Regions from separate parts of the Homo sapiens genome. Here region 1 is linked to region 2. The links are contacts of gene promoters, found by promoter capture Hi-C in blood cells and fetal thymus (Javierre and others, 2016). All regions are on one chromosome and are shown on one strand. The core of a region is centred on a gene start or on the middle of the fragment in contact, and the rest is flanking DNA. Distances in the headings are between cores, read along the strand shown. Region 1 overlaps ABCB10 (ATP binding cassette subfamily B member 10). Region 2 holds the start of RAB4A (RAB4A, member RAS oncogene family).

Region 1 (6,186 bases), core at 2,179-4,678, 260 kb after region 2:
CTCACCATGTTGCCCAGGCTGGTCTCGAACTACTGAGCTCAAGCAATCAGCCTGTCTTGGCCTCCCAGAGTGCTAGGACTACAGGCATGAGCCACCATGCCCGGCCAGGAACTTGTTATCTTGCAAGGAAACATTTCAATATTTGTATTGAAAAAAAAAAGTGTTTAGCTGAACATTTATTTCTCTTAAAGTTCTACTCATTGGTTCATTTCTGCACTTTAAAGAAATACAAACTGAGTCTTCTCTCTCCTCAAAATATGGCAACCATAATGTGATCCAGAATGATAGGTGTGGTCTGACACCACAGGGAATCGCTCACTTTGCCTCACAGCCGTGAGTCTATTCAGCAAATTATGGCCCACAGGCCAGACCTGAACCATGGCATGTCTATGCACGGCCCTCAAGCTAAGAATGTGTTTTACATTTTTAAAGTTGCTTAAAAGCACACACACACAAAGAAGGATGTGTGACAGCCATCATATGTGACCCATAAAACCCACAATTTTTTTTTTTTTGGGACAGAGTCTCATTCTGTCTCCCAGGCTGGAGTGCAATGGCACAATCTTGGCTCACTGCAACCTCCGCCTCCTGAGTTCAAGCAATTCTCATGCCTCAGCCTCCCGAGTAGCTGGGATTACAGGTGCCCACCACCACGCCCAGCTAACTTTTTGTATCTTTAGTAGAGACAGGGTTTCACCATGTTCACCAGGCTAGTCTTGAACTCCTGATCTCAAGTGATCCACCTGCCTCGGCCTCCCAAAGTGCTGGGATTACAGGTGTGAGCCACCGTGCCTGGCCAAAACCCACAATATTTACTGTCTGGCTCTTTAAAGAAAAGTTTGTCAAACCCTGGTCTAGTATGTAGGGAGTAAATAATTCTTTCAATTTCAGCTTTGTTCCTGATGCACATTCCCTGACTCCCTGGGCAAATCATCCTGCCACTTCTTATTTTCTTTAATTTTTGAGGGTCTCAGGTTGCAAAGCACATTTGTTGTTGTTGTTGTTGTTGTTGTTTTTCAGATGAAAAAAAGCTTGCTGTGGCTGAGTACTACTCAGAATTTTTGGAACACATATGGGGTAGAAAGTGAAAGAAAACACTGGGGAATTTTCCACATATAAGAGAGCAAGTGGTAAGGCTAATTTCAAAAACTCTAAAGATGAAAACCTAATTAGAAAATAATACTGCAATATAGAAACATGTGGGCTGGGCACGGTGGCTCACGCCTGTAATCCCAGCACTTTGCGAGGCCAAGGTGGGCGGATCACGAGGTCAGGAGATCAAGACTATCCTGGCTAACACGGTGAAACCCTGTCTCTACTAAAAAATTAGCTGGACGTGGTGGCAGGCACCTGTGGTCCCAGCTACTCGGGAGGCTGAGGCAGGAGAATGGCATGAACCCAGGAGGAGGAGCTTGCAGAGAGCCGAGATTGCGCCACTGCCACTGCACTCCAGCCTGGGTGACAGAGCAAGACTCAAGACTCCGTCTCAAAAACAAAACAAACAAACAAAAAAAACAAGAAACATGTGAAAAGTTCTTTGGATATAGAGACTTTGCTACAAAGCAGTAAAGAAATGCACCTGAGAGGAGAACACCCTTTTCTCCAACCACAGTGTTGAACCCTTGGGGGAAATTCCGGATGAAGGCCACTGCATTGGCCACTTCAGCCACTCTCTGGATTTCCTCAGCGGTCACAGAGGAAGGGTCATCAGCACCATAAGCAATGTTCTCAGCAATAGAGCAAGAAAACAAAATGGGTTCCTACAAATTGGAAATAAAACATATCACGAATTTCAAACAGACTTAAAACATGTCTAATAAATTTAGACCTAGCAGTCTTTTTTAAAATTTATGTTTTGCCATGAACAGGATTTTATCATCTGTAGTTCTCACCATGCTGCAAGCAATGAGACCTCACAGCAGGTGCCCGCAAGGCACCTGGCACATGGTAGGAACTTTGTAAATGTCAGTCCCCTGCCTTAGGAATCAGGAGGCACCAGGAGACCCCAAGTCCACCTGCATTTTCCAGCTGCCTGCCTTCCACTCAGGACAAAGCGGGGAATCCATCTCCATCCATTACTTTTTGAAATACACACAAACCACATGGGAACAAACAATTCTGACAGAACCCTATGGAGTAGTCCTAAAAAATAAGCAAACTTCCAGGCTCTTTTCTCCATCCCTAATCATATACACCACTGATGTCCCTACACTCCTGAGCACCCATCACCATCCACCTGCCCTCACCCAAGTGGAGTGGGGAGAGGATGAGCTAATCACAAAGAGAGGTTCAGAAATGGGGGGAGGCTCAGGTTTGTATGCTGTGTGCACAGCCTGGTAATAAAAATTAAAACAGCTGCAGCAACATTTCCCTGCCCCAAAGGGTCTTGTGAAAATGGCCTTATCAAAGTGACCACATTACATTAACACTCTGCTTTGAAATCTGCAACTTCTTTGCAAGGAGGACTCTGGCTCTTGCCATAGTCTTTGCTCACTTTTCCCTGAAACTCATTATGCAGAATAGTAGACTGTGGCTGGTGATGAAAATGGGAAGTGGGGAAGAATCAGTAAAAGCTAAAAAAGAGTCAATAAAATCTTCTATCATTTCCTCCCCATCCTCTAGACTATCTAGTAATGGTAGTCTCCAGCTTTCAATAAAAAGTCAATGCTTCACCCTTGCTCAAACATTTAGGGTTTTCAGGAAACAGCGCTACTTGCAAACCTAAACAACCTGCCATGTGAGATGAGCTTAATACATCCCAAAGACTTCCATTCCTTCTCTCTTGAGAAGTTCGAGACAAAAAAAAAAAAAAGCAAAAGACAAAAGTAATTTTAAAAGAAAGTGAAATAGAAATGGAAGCCTCTCTTCTTACCTGACTCACTGTCCCAATTTTGGATCTCAGCCACACTGGGTTTAGCTGACGGATGTCATGGCCATCAAGACTAATAGTTCCTTGTTGAGAGGAAAGGAAAGGAAAGAGTCACTGAGTGTGATGAGGCTGATGACCAACACAGAAAGGATCCGGTGGGAAAATTCCAGACTCATTTTTTAAAGATCAAAATGTACTGAAAATCTCCAGATGGACTCTAAAACTAACATATTTCATGAAATTTCAGAGCTAAAAGGGACTTTCTGGATTGTCCAAGTTATTGTCTCCCGATAGTAGCTGGATGACTATCTCACCGAGTCCATCTGTCCAGCTTGCCTTCCTGTACTCCGGAGGTTGTAGGGAGTTTTCCCAAAACTCCCTAGTGACTTAGGATTCCACCGATAAGATGCACTTGTGCAAAGCTTTAATTCAGAAGGGAGGGGCAAGCCATGAGGCATCCACTTGCTGGCACGAATACTGGCAGAGGTGGCACAGCTCTGAAGCTGGCATTCATGACAGCAACTGCCTAAATTTGTAGCTTCCTGACCATGCCAGTGTCAGCAGCTACCTTGAAGGCCTGGTTCTGGGGTGGAGTTCTGCAAACTGTCCTGGAAGTACAATCTAGAATCTATTTTGTCATTCCTGCCAGTGATTTTTGAGCTCTTTTATTACTCCTTAAAATATCCCTTTCTGTAATAAGCTTAGTTGGTGAGGAATCTGTTGTCTGCAACTAAGAATCTGGTCGATACCATGGCAGAGCTTTTAAATAATCAGACGCTATCTTTATGACTTTTGCTAACAGAATTCTTCACATTGAGGGTGCTCAACAAAACTTGGTGATGATGACAACAGTGACAGCATAAGAAATGCCATTTCTTCTCAGTTAATGTTGTGGAATTATAGAAGCCAGCTGGAAATGTTCACAAACTGGCAAAAACTTGAGGTCTTTGACGAAAAAGCACAAAGCTCTTTATAGACTACACATGGCAGACATTTAACTGCAGTTTGCTTTGTCCTGGATTTATTCATTGTGATGAAGAAACTAGAGACTCAGTATTTTTACTTGAATTACAGCAACCTAAATAGGATTTTTTTTGGTCTTTTTTTTTTTTCCTTTTTATGGAGAACAAGGTCTCACTATATTGCCCAAGCAGGTCTCAAACTCCCGGGCTCAAGCTATCCTCCCACCTCTGCCTCCCTAAGAGCTGAGATTACAGGTGTGAACTACTGTGCCCAGCTAACTAGGATTTTTTTAAACTCCAAATTTTATAGCAAGTGAATGGTGAATCAAGAAAGTGATTCCAGAGACAAACAATGTAGTAAGCCCCATTTTAACACAGGTGGTGATTCCATGGGTCAGGATTTGCAAGTCACATATTTATCTGACATGTAACCAGCTCTCACATTGTTTTAACCAAAAAGCATAAGCACAAAGACACAAAACATTCATTTTTTAAATTACAGAATTTTTTTTTTTTAATAAATAGTGACAGGGTCTCACTATGTTACCCGGGCTGGTCTCCAACTTGTGGCCTCAAGTGATCCTCCCACCTCAGCCTCCCAAAGTGTTGCAATTACAGGTGTGGGGCTCCACATCTGGCCAAAATATTCTTTCTAAATTCATGATTTGATTTTTACTAAGAGTTGTTTGCTTGCTGACATTGTTGTCTACTACAGGGAAGATAGAAGTAAAATCATGTGCTCTTTGCTCTTAAAGATGTTATAATCCAGTTAAAAATAAAATAAAAACTAGAATGAGAAAAATCATCCATTAAGAAAATCCCGGCTGGGCGCGGTGGCTCACGCCTGTAATCCCAGCACTCTGGGGGACTGAGGAGGGTGGATCACGAGGTCAGGAGATCGAGACCATCCTGGCTAACACGGTGAAACCCCATCTCTACTAAAAATACAAAAAAAATTAGCCGGGCATGGTGGCAGGCGCCTGTGGTCCCAGCTACTCGGGAGGCTGAGGCAGGAGAATGGCGTGAACCCGGGAGGCGGAGCTTGCAGCAGTGAGCTGAGATCGTGCCACTGCACTCCAGCCTGGGCAACAGAGCAAGACTCCGTCTCAAAAAAAAAAAAAAAAAAAAAAAAAAAAAAAAAAGAAAATCCCTACTAGGTCAAAATAGTTTCAATGGAACAGTCACATAGAAGTTAATCACTGGCCAGGCACGGTGGCTCACACCTGTAATCCCAGCACTTTGGGAGGCCAAGGCGGGTGGATCACGAGGTCAGGAGATCGAGACCATCCTGGCTAACACGGTGAAACCCCAACTCTATTAAAAATACAAAAAATTAGCTGGGCGTGGTGGCAGGCACCTGTAGTCCCAGCTACTCGGGAGGCTGAGGCAGGAGAATGGCGGGAACCCAGGAGGCAGAGCTTGCAGTGAGCTGAGATCGCGCCACTGCACTCCAGCCTGGGCGACAGAGCAAGACTGTCTCAAAAAAAAAAAAAAAAAAAAAAAAAAGAAGTGAATCACTGATGGCCAAGTTAACTGTGTGCACAATAAGCATTCAATGGCTCACAGGCAGAGGCAGAGGTTCTCCAGGAGCTCCCTATCACTCCTGCGCCCAGCACGCGCACTGGCACACGGTGGTTCTCCAGGGTGCTGCTGGAGCACCCCAGGCACTCTGTCCTGGCTGCTGAGCACAGCCTCGTCCACCTGCTCCCAGTAGAGGGCATGTCCAGAGGAGATACCCGCATGGGAGATGAGGAGGTAGATCTGGGGAAGTCACTCTGGGCTTGAAGAGGTAGGACACATTACACACAAAAAGCTCTAAAGGCCTCTGTATGAGCTGTCATGCCCCTGCAAATGACACCTTCTGTTTGAGGGATTTCTTTCCACTGGCACTTAGAAAAGAAGGTACTCTACAAAATAAGGTATTTGCATGGTTTGAGCATCTCCTAGGGCGCAAAAGTGGGAGCAGAGCTCGGGAGAGTCCCTCGGTGCTACAGTGTGGTGAACTGCTTACCAGAAGCAGGGTCGTACAACCTCAGCAGGAGTGAAAGCACTGTTGATTTGCCAGAACCACTTGGGCCAACCAGTGCCGTGACAGATCCTGACGGAATGGAAAGGCTGAAATCCTGAAATATGGGCACCTCTGGGCGAGCTGGATAGGCAAAATGCACGTTCTTAAACTCCAAAGCACCCTGGAAGCTTTTCTCATTTAAGATGACCCCCTCTGAAACATAAAATGGAATATTAATTACTTACAGCAAAAAATTAAACTCAAAAGCTGAACTCGGTTCTCCTACTCATCTGGCTATGGATGGGTGACTCCACCACAGCTAATCCTGGTATATGAGCTCTTAAAGG
Region 2 (6,183 bases), core at 2,219-4,718:
ACGCCTGTAATCCCAGCACTTTGGGAGGCTGCCCAGCACTTTGGGAGGCTGAGGCAGGCGGATTACCTGAGGTCAGGAGTTTGAGACCAGCACAGCCAACAAGGCGAAACCCCGTCTCTACTAAAAATACAAAAATTAGCCAGGTGTGGTGGCGCGTGGCTGTAATCCCAGCTACTCAGAAGTCTGAGGCAGGAGAATCACTTGAACCCGGGAGGCAGAGGTCATAGTGAGCTGAGATCACGCCACTGCATTCCAGCCTGTGCAACAAAGCAAGACTACATCTCAAAAAATAAAATAAAATAAATACATACGTATGTGCAGTTATGCCTATACTTCAATAAAATTGTTTCAAATAAAAGCACGATGAGCTGCCTGGACAGGTGAAAATTCCAGTGGTAGTCATAATGTCTTTCCATAGACTTTCTCTTCTCCTTTCTTTCAGGGACATAACAATATTGCATTTCCTGTCCTCTTTGAAATTAAGTGTTGCCACATGACTTGCTTTGGCCCATGAAATGTAAATAGAAGTTCTTATAGCAATTCCTGGTAAGTGCTTCTCTAACTAATGCACAATCAGTCCTAATGCATAGCCACTCCTACCTGAGTGATTGTGGAGATGCATTTAGATAAAACACACTCGGTCAGCCTGGGTCTAGGAGGGCCCATGAGCAAGTCTCTGCTCGTGGGAGTGGACAGGTAGTCTGAGCGAGGAACTTTGCTGCGTAAGTCATAAATGGGTTGAGAGATCTGCATTACTGCAGTTAATCTAGCCCATTCTGACTGAATATTCCCTAGCAACAGAGGTATCTGATCATGGACATAGTTTTGACAGTGGAAGGTAAAGTGGCCCAGTGACCTCTGAGGTGTCTACTTTCTTGAAGATGTGAGTTATATGTCATAGTCTCCACCAGCCTGGGTGTGGAATTGAGCTTCCATTTTCAAGTCTCCACTTGTATGTCTGGAATTTGGCTCCTTCTCAAGGTAACACCCAGGGATTGCTGAGTTCCCAAGTGCTCAGACACAAGTCCACTCATTTTCTTCAATTCCAGTTACCAAAGAAAGTCACCATTCCACCGAGGCTGTGACCAGTGCCCTCCACCAGGCCTAGCTCCAAGAATCTCATGCATCAAGCCCCAGGGCTCCTCACGTTGGGCATTAAATGTAAGGTCATGCCACATTCTTTAACATTGTCAGGAAGCAGGAAGGAAAGTACCAGATACTTGAAGGACCCACTGACCTGGAAAAAAGTGGGATCTAGTTTCAGCTTGAAAAAATCCTTCTTCATAATTACATTTCCCTTAGGCAAATCTCTAACATGCCTAGGCTTTTGTATATCTGTTTTTACTGCGTCACAAACCTCCCCCAAAGAGAAGGGAGACGATAACTGGAGAAAACCACAAATTAATCTTCCAATATTTTTTTCTTCCATATAATCAGCAGTGCCTCAGAATCAAAGCAGTCTCTAAAAATATTTTGAAGAAATTTATTTTCTTGGATCTTCAAAGATCCAAAGTTACTGAGATGCAAAGAATCTTCCACAGTATCATCCAAGGATACTGAAGGGCTCCTTCAAACCTCGCCCTTGTATATTTCTTCTTCCAGTTGTGATACTGCAGTTACATTTGCAAACCAAATGATCCCTTTGGGTGGTTTTTCCAAAACAAATCGTCTTTCCCAAAGGCCTACCTAAGTCTTCATTTTCCACAAAGTAGAAAACTGCCCACAGCTTTGAAATGGCAGCATAATTTGTATTTCTACCACCTTGTCCAGGTTTCAGGGATCTCTGGTCCAGTTTCAGTCAATAATGCTAACTATCACTGCAGCTCACTGACTTCTTTCTTGTACATAGCAGTTTTTCGCAGGAAGAAAACAAATCTAACGAATAGGAATAACTTCAGGTGATGCTGTTTTCTTCCCGCTTCCTGGGATCACTGTCTTTCCTCTGAAATGGTTTTAATCAGAACCAATCTGTTATACTCAGGAGCCTAAATCAAACACGACATGCAGAGAGACAAACAAGAAAGCAACAAATGATCTGAGCCACTGAACAAGAAATATATATAAAACAGTTTTAGGAATTACAGCTGTCACAACTTTTCACCATGGGGCCTTCTCTGTGATTTAGAAAAAACTGCATTTATTTGTTATTAGGATCGGAGACAAGAGAAAAATACCGACCCAAATAGCCACTGGGGAAGAGGGAAGCTCTGATGCCAATTTATGTGGAGGATGGAGCCAAACTGACTCACACACACACACACAAAAGTATGTACTGGCATTTTCCACACAGTCCAGGTCACTTGGGAGCTTAGCCAAGGATATTTTGAGCATTCGACTACCTATTGTGAACAAGGTTGGGAACTATGAGGCGCTATGTGGCCCTGATCAAGCTCAGATGGGCCAAATCCTCAACCAAAATTCTCTTTCCCATAAATGTTTATCTCTACATTTCCCACAGAAGGGGATTCTAACTCAGTTTTGCTTCTGAAACCAAACTATCCAAGGCCAGGTGAGATGACTCATGCCTGTAATCCCAGCAATTTGGGAGGCCAAGGAGGGAGGATGCTTGAACTCAGGAGTTCAAGACCAGCCTGGGCAACATAACAAGACCCCATCTCTACAAAAAATTTAAAAATTGGCGCGGTGTGGTCGTGTGAGCCCCTAGCCCCAGCTACTCAGGAGGCTGAGGCAGGAGAATCGGTTGGGCTGGGCTGACAGTGCCAGACCCTGTTAAAAAATAAAAATTAAAAAAACTCCTAAATTTGGAAACACATCCCCAGCTGAGGGCCGGGAGATACTTCTCAACCGTAATCCAGAACCCTCTAAAATGGGATGTGGAGAGGCTGCAGCCTGTAGTCTTGCGATGACCTTTTAGCACCTGGGCATCTTGCGCTTCTGTCATTCCGCCCACACCCGCTCAGCTCCATCCAAGAGGGCCCGGCAGTTTGGAGTGAAAGCTTAGCTTCCCAACGGGTAAATGAACCTGCCTCCCATTCACAGGGCGGCCTCTGGCTGGACACCTGGGGCCTACTGCCTCCTTGTTACACATTAACCAAGTTCTGGCCTCCATCGTAACAGCGTCAGGGAAGTTTTTTCCTGGCTGACAGCCGCAGATGATGACCGAAGACAACGTCTTAACTGAGACGGGCCAATTTGGCAAATGGACTGCTTTCCTCCCCAGTGCGGGCACCTTCCTCCTCTGTCCGGCAACTGGACCCCACTGTCCCCAGCCCTCTGTCACCCCCAAACCTGCCCACCGCCCGCCTCTACCCGACCCTCCCTCAGGGAAATCGGGACTCAGCCCCCAACGCCCCCACCTGCCGCTCTGCCCACCTCAGCGCACACCGCCAGAGCGCCCAGCCCGCGCACGTGCTTCCGGCGCGCGCCGAAGTCCTCACGCGCCCCGCCCCGGCCTCCCCGTGCGCACGCGCGAACGCGGGGTGGGCCGGGCCTCGCGTAGCCCATCTCCTCTTCCTCCTCGCGGTCGCGGCCGGACGGAGGGTGGAGGGCCCTGCGCCTGCGCGGAGCTGGAGTCCGGCTGGGCCGCAGCCGCTGGGAGACCGGCGGTTGCCGTGGGGACCGGTCGGGCCCCTCCCTCCTCCGGTCCCCCGCCCCAGGTCCTTCCCCACCGAGACGCGCCGGCGGACCGCGGGCGAGTGCAGCCGGTGACCCGGCGAGAGGCGGCGCCGCTCCCAAGATGTCGCAGACGGCCATGTCCGAAACCTACGGTACGAGGCCCGGGCTGGCGGGGCGCGCGGGTCGGGCCGCGGGGGGCGTCGGTGGCGCGGGGCCGGGCCTGGGCTGCGGGGGTCTTGAGGGTGGCGGTGGCGCCGGCCGGAGCCGGGGGACGGATCTCGGAGGTGTCTGGGCTTGGGACCGGGATGGGGGACGCGGGCCGCTGGGGGCTCGGGTGGGGTAGCGGGTGCGCGGGGCGCGGGGGCGCTGTGCACAGCGCATTGGCGTGATCCGCCTTTTCAAGTTTCCTCTTGCTCTTTCTCTGCTCTTGCACTCTTAGCGCTTTTCCCCTCTCAGTCTAATGTAAATAACTGAAGGTTTGAAAAGCCAGCTTGATGTTCGGTTTCAGCTGCGATATTATCCCCAGCGAGCCTGTGAAGGGCTTAGGGCGACGCCTGTGTTCCTCAAATACTTCAGTTTGACCTTTCCTGGTTTGGAATTCCTTGCTTTACATTGGGATTACAGTGAGGAGTTATTAATAGGCTAATTCATTCATCTCTTCCTCCGGAGACCTCTTGCTTCGTTTATTTCTCCCTCCCTCTCAGTGTTTTTTAGCCTTTTCTGGGTTGCATTTTGGCTATTTATAAACATGTCTTGTCTCCTTCTTAAGACCGTAAGCACCTTGGAAGCAAAGCCCTGGCTGTTTAATCTTTGTTTCCCCTGCAGCACCCAGACCTGGAGGTGCTTGACAAATACTGTTTTGAATAAGCGAAAGCTTTCCCAGTGCATATGCTGTGTGCTTTTTTTTTTTTCTCCCCTTTTTTGGCCTTGCGTGGTAAGAATAAACAACTTGTACTTTGTATCAGAGTTGAATATTAATAGATGTTTACCAGTCCCTAATCACTCTTTCAGATGTATGTATTCTCAGATTAAGACTTTGATTTGGAGTTTTACAGTCCCAGAGAGAGGCTCAAGTTCAAAATTACATACCTCAAGCCAAATTAGTCCTGTCTCCATCTGTCCTGGCATGCTGCTTCCTTCTCTGCAACAAATACTGTGGAATGGCATTAGGGAAGCGAGCACCGTGCTGGGAGGGCTGTACATCCTGCAGAAACACAGCAGACACGGCTCTGGTCTCATGGAGCGTAGTCTATTGAGGGAATGCAGTATTAATCCAATTGTGATACTAATGAGTGAATAATTAAAAACCAGGCAAGAGTTCTGAAGGAGTGTGGTCCGTGAAAGTGTGTTAGAAAGAAAGATGACCCAGACAGGGGTGTCAGGGAGGCATTAACCAGGCAGCACGCAGAACATCTCAGGCCTGTGGGAAGGGTAACTCAAGAAGGGTGTGTTTTGAGTACCACGCTGGAGAGGTGGATGAGGAGGCAGAGAGGAGAGGGTCTTGAGGAAGGCGTCAGTTTGTCTTGTAAGAAAAAATGGGAACTTTTGGAAGGGCTTCCATGCTGGGGTCACAGTGCATTTGGTCCACCTTCAGTGAGTGACTCCTGTGACTGGTACTGCCCTGTTCTTGGTGACAAAGGGGCATGACATCTGTTCCTAGAAGGCGTAGGAAATCCTCCAGTAAGTCGATGCCTTCATCAGGACAAGTGTTTGCAAATGTTTCTGCAAATGGCAGTGGTCTGGTTCTTCCTGTAGAGAACCACAGTCAGAAATGTTGTAAGGAAAACATGGTCTTTAGCAATTTTTGGTTACATCTTTGCACTTCTTTATTTTCAAGTGCTCTTTAGCCCAGGCTTAGTTTCTTTAACCTGAGTAAGGAGCACGGAGCACTAGGGGAAGGGTGGAATGTCCAAATAAGAAAAGCAAGTGGGGGTCATGAATCAGTAAGAAAGGATTGGAAGAGTTCAGGAGATAGAGCTTTTATGTTTCATTTTTCGTATACGCATGATAACAACTGATAAAATAGAGCTTATCTTTGGCATCTCCACTTCAGACACAGTTAACTGAACTTTTGAGCTTCACAGATTGATTACATTCTGATCATAAGGCTTTGACCATTAGTATTCTTATTTCATGGTAACTTCCAAGTATGTTTTTACTTTGCAACTCTGAATTGAATCTTTTCTTCTAATAGAGGAAATTAATCGAAAACTAGTAGAAACTAATAAATAGAAAATGAGGCCAGAGGTGATGGCTCACGCCTGTAATCCCAGCACTTTGGAAGGCCGAGTTGGGCGGATCACTTGAGCTCAGGAGTTCAATACCAGCCTGGCCAACATGGCGAAACCCCAGCCCTATTAAAAATACAAAAAATTACCTGGGCATGGTGGTACGCTTGTAGTCCCGGCTACTTGGGAGGCTGAGGCATGAGAATTGCTTGAACCCAGGAGGTGAAGTTTACAGTGAGCCAAGATTGTGCCACTGCACTCCATCCTGGGCAACAGAGTGAGACTCTGTCTCAAAAAAAGAAAATGAGTTTTAGAAGGAGCAAGCAGGACAGTTGAAGTTTGCCAAGCTGAAGTAAAAGTCACCTAGAACCAAGTCCTA

What was found. The method cuts DNA at HindIII sites, captures the fragments that hold promoters and counts their contacts. A CHiCAGO score of 5 or more calls a contact.
Region 1: a contact is called between a fragment that was not itself captured here and the fragment with the promoter of RAB4A in region 2, in 3 of 17 cell types (total CD8 T cells, non-activated CD4 T cells and naive B cells). The highest score is 6.4, in total CD8 T cells.

The regions. Positions count from the first base shown.
Region 1 is chr1:229,524,357-229,530,542 of GRCh38, forward strand. It overlaps ABCB10 (ATP binding cassette subfamily B member 10), which reads right to left. Exons shown (of 13, transcript NM_012089.3): 8 at 5,843-6,052; 9 at 2,873-2,952; 10 at 1,580-1,760. Among named protein-coding and RNA genes, the nearest start is that of NUP133-DT, 19 kb to the left of the region's middle. The HindIII fragment of the contact is 278 bases long and covers 3,290-3,567 here.
Region 2 is chr1:229,267,643-229,273,825 of GRCh38, forward strand. It overlaps RAB4A (RAB4A, member RAS oncogene family), which reads left to right and starts at 3,469. Exons shown (of 8, transcript NM_004578.4): 1 at 3,469-3,728. The coding sequence starts at 3,698. RAB4A-AS1 (RAB4A antisense RNA 1) reads right to left here and starts at 3,512. Exons shown (of 2, transcript NR_149313.1): 1 at 3,334-3,512. RefSeq lists silencers at 3,281-3,810, 3,851-4,010. The HindIII fragment of the contact is 1,493 bases long and covers 2,956-4,448 here.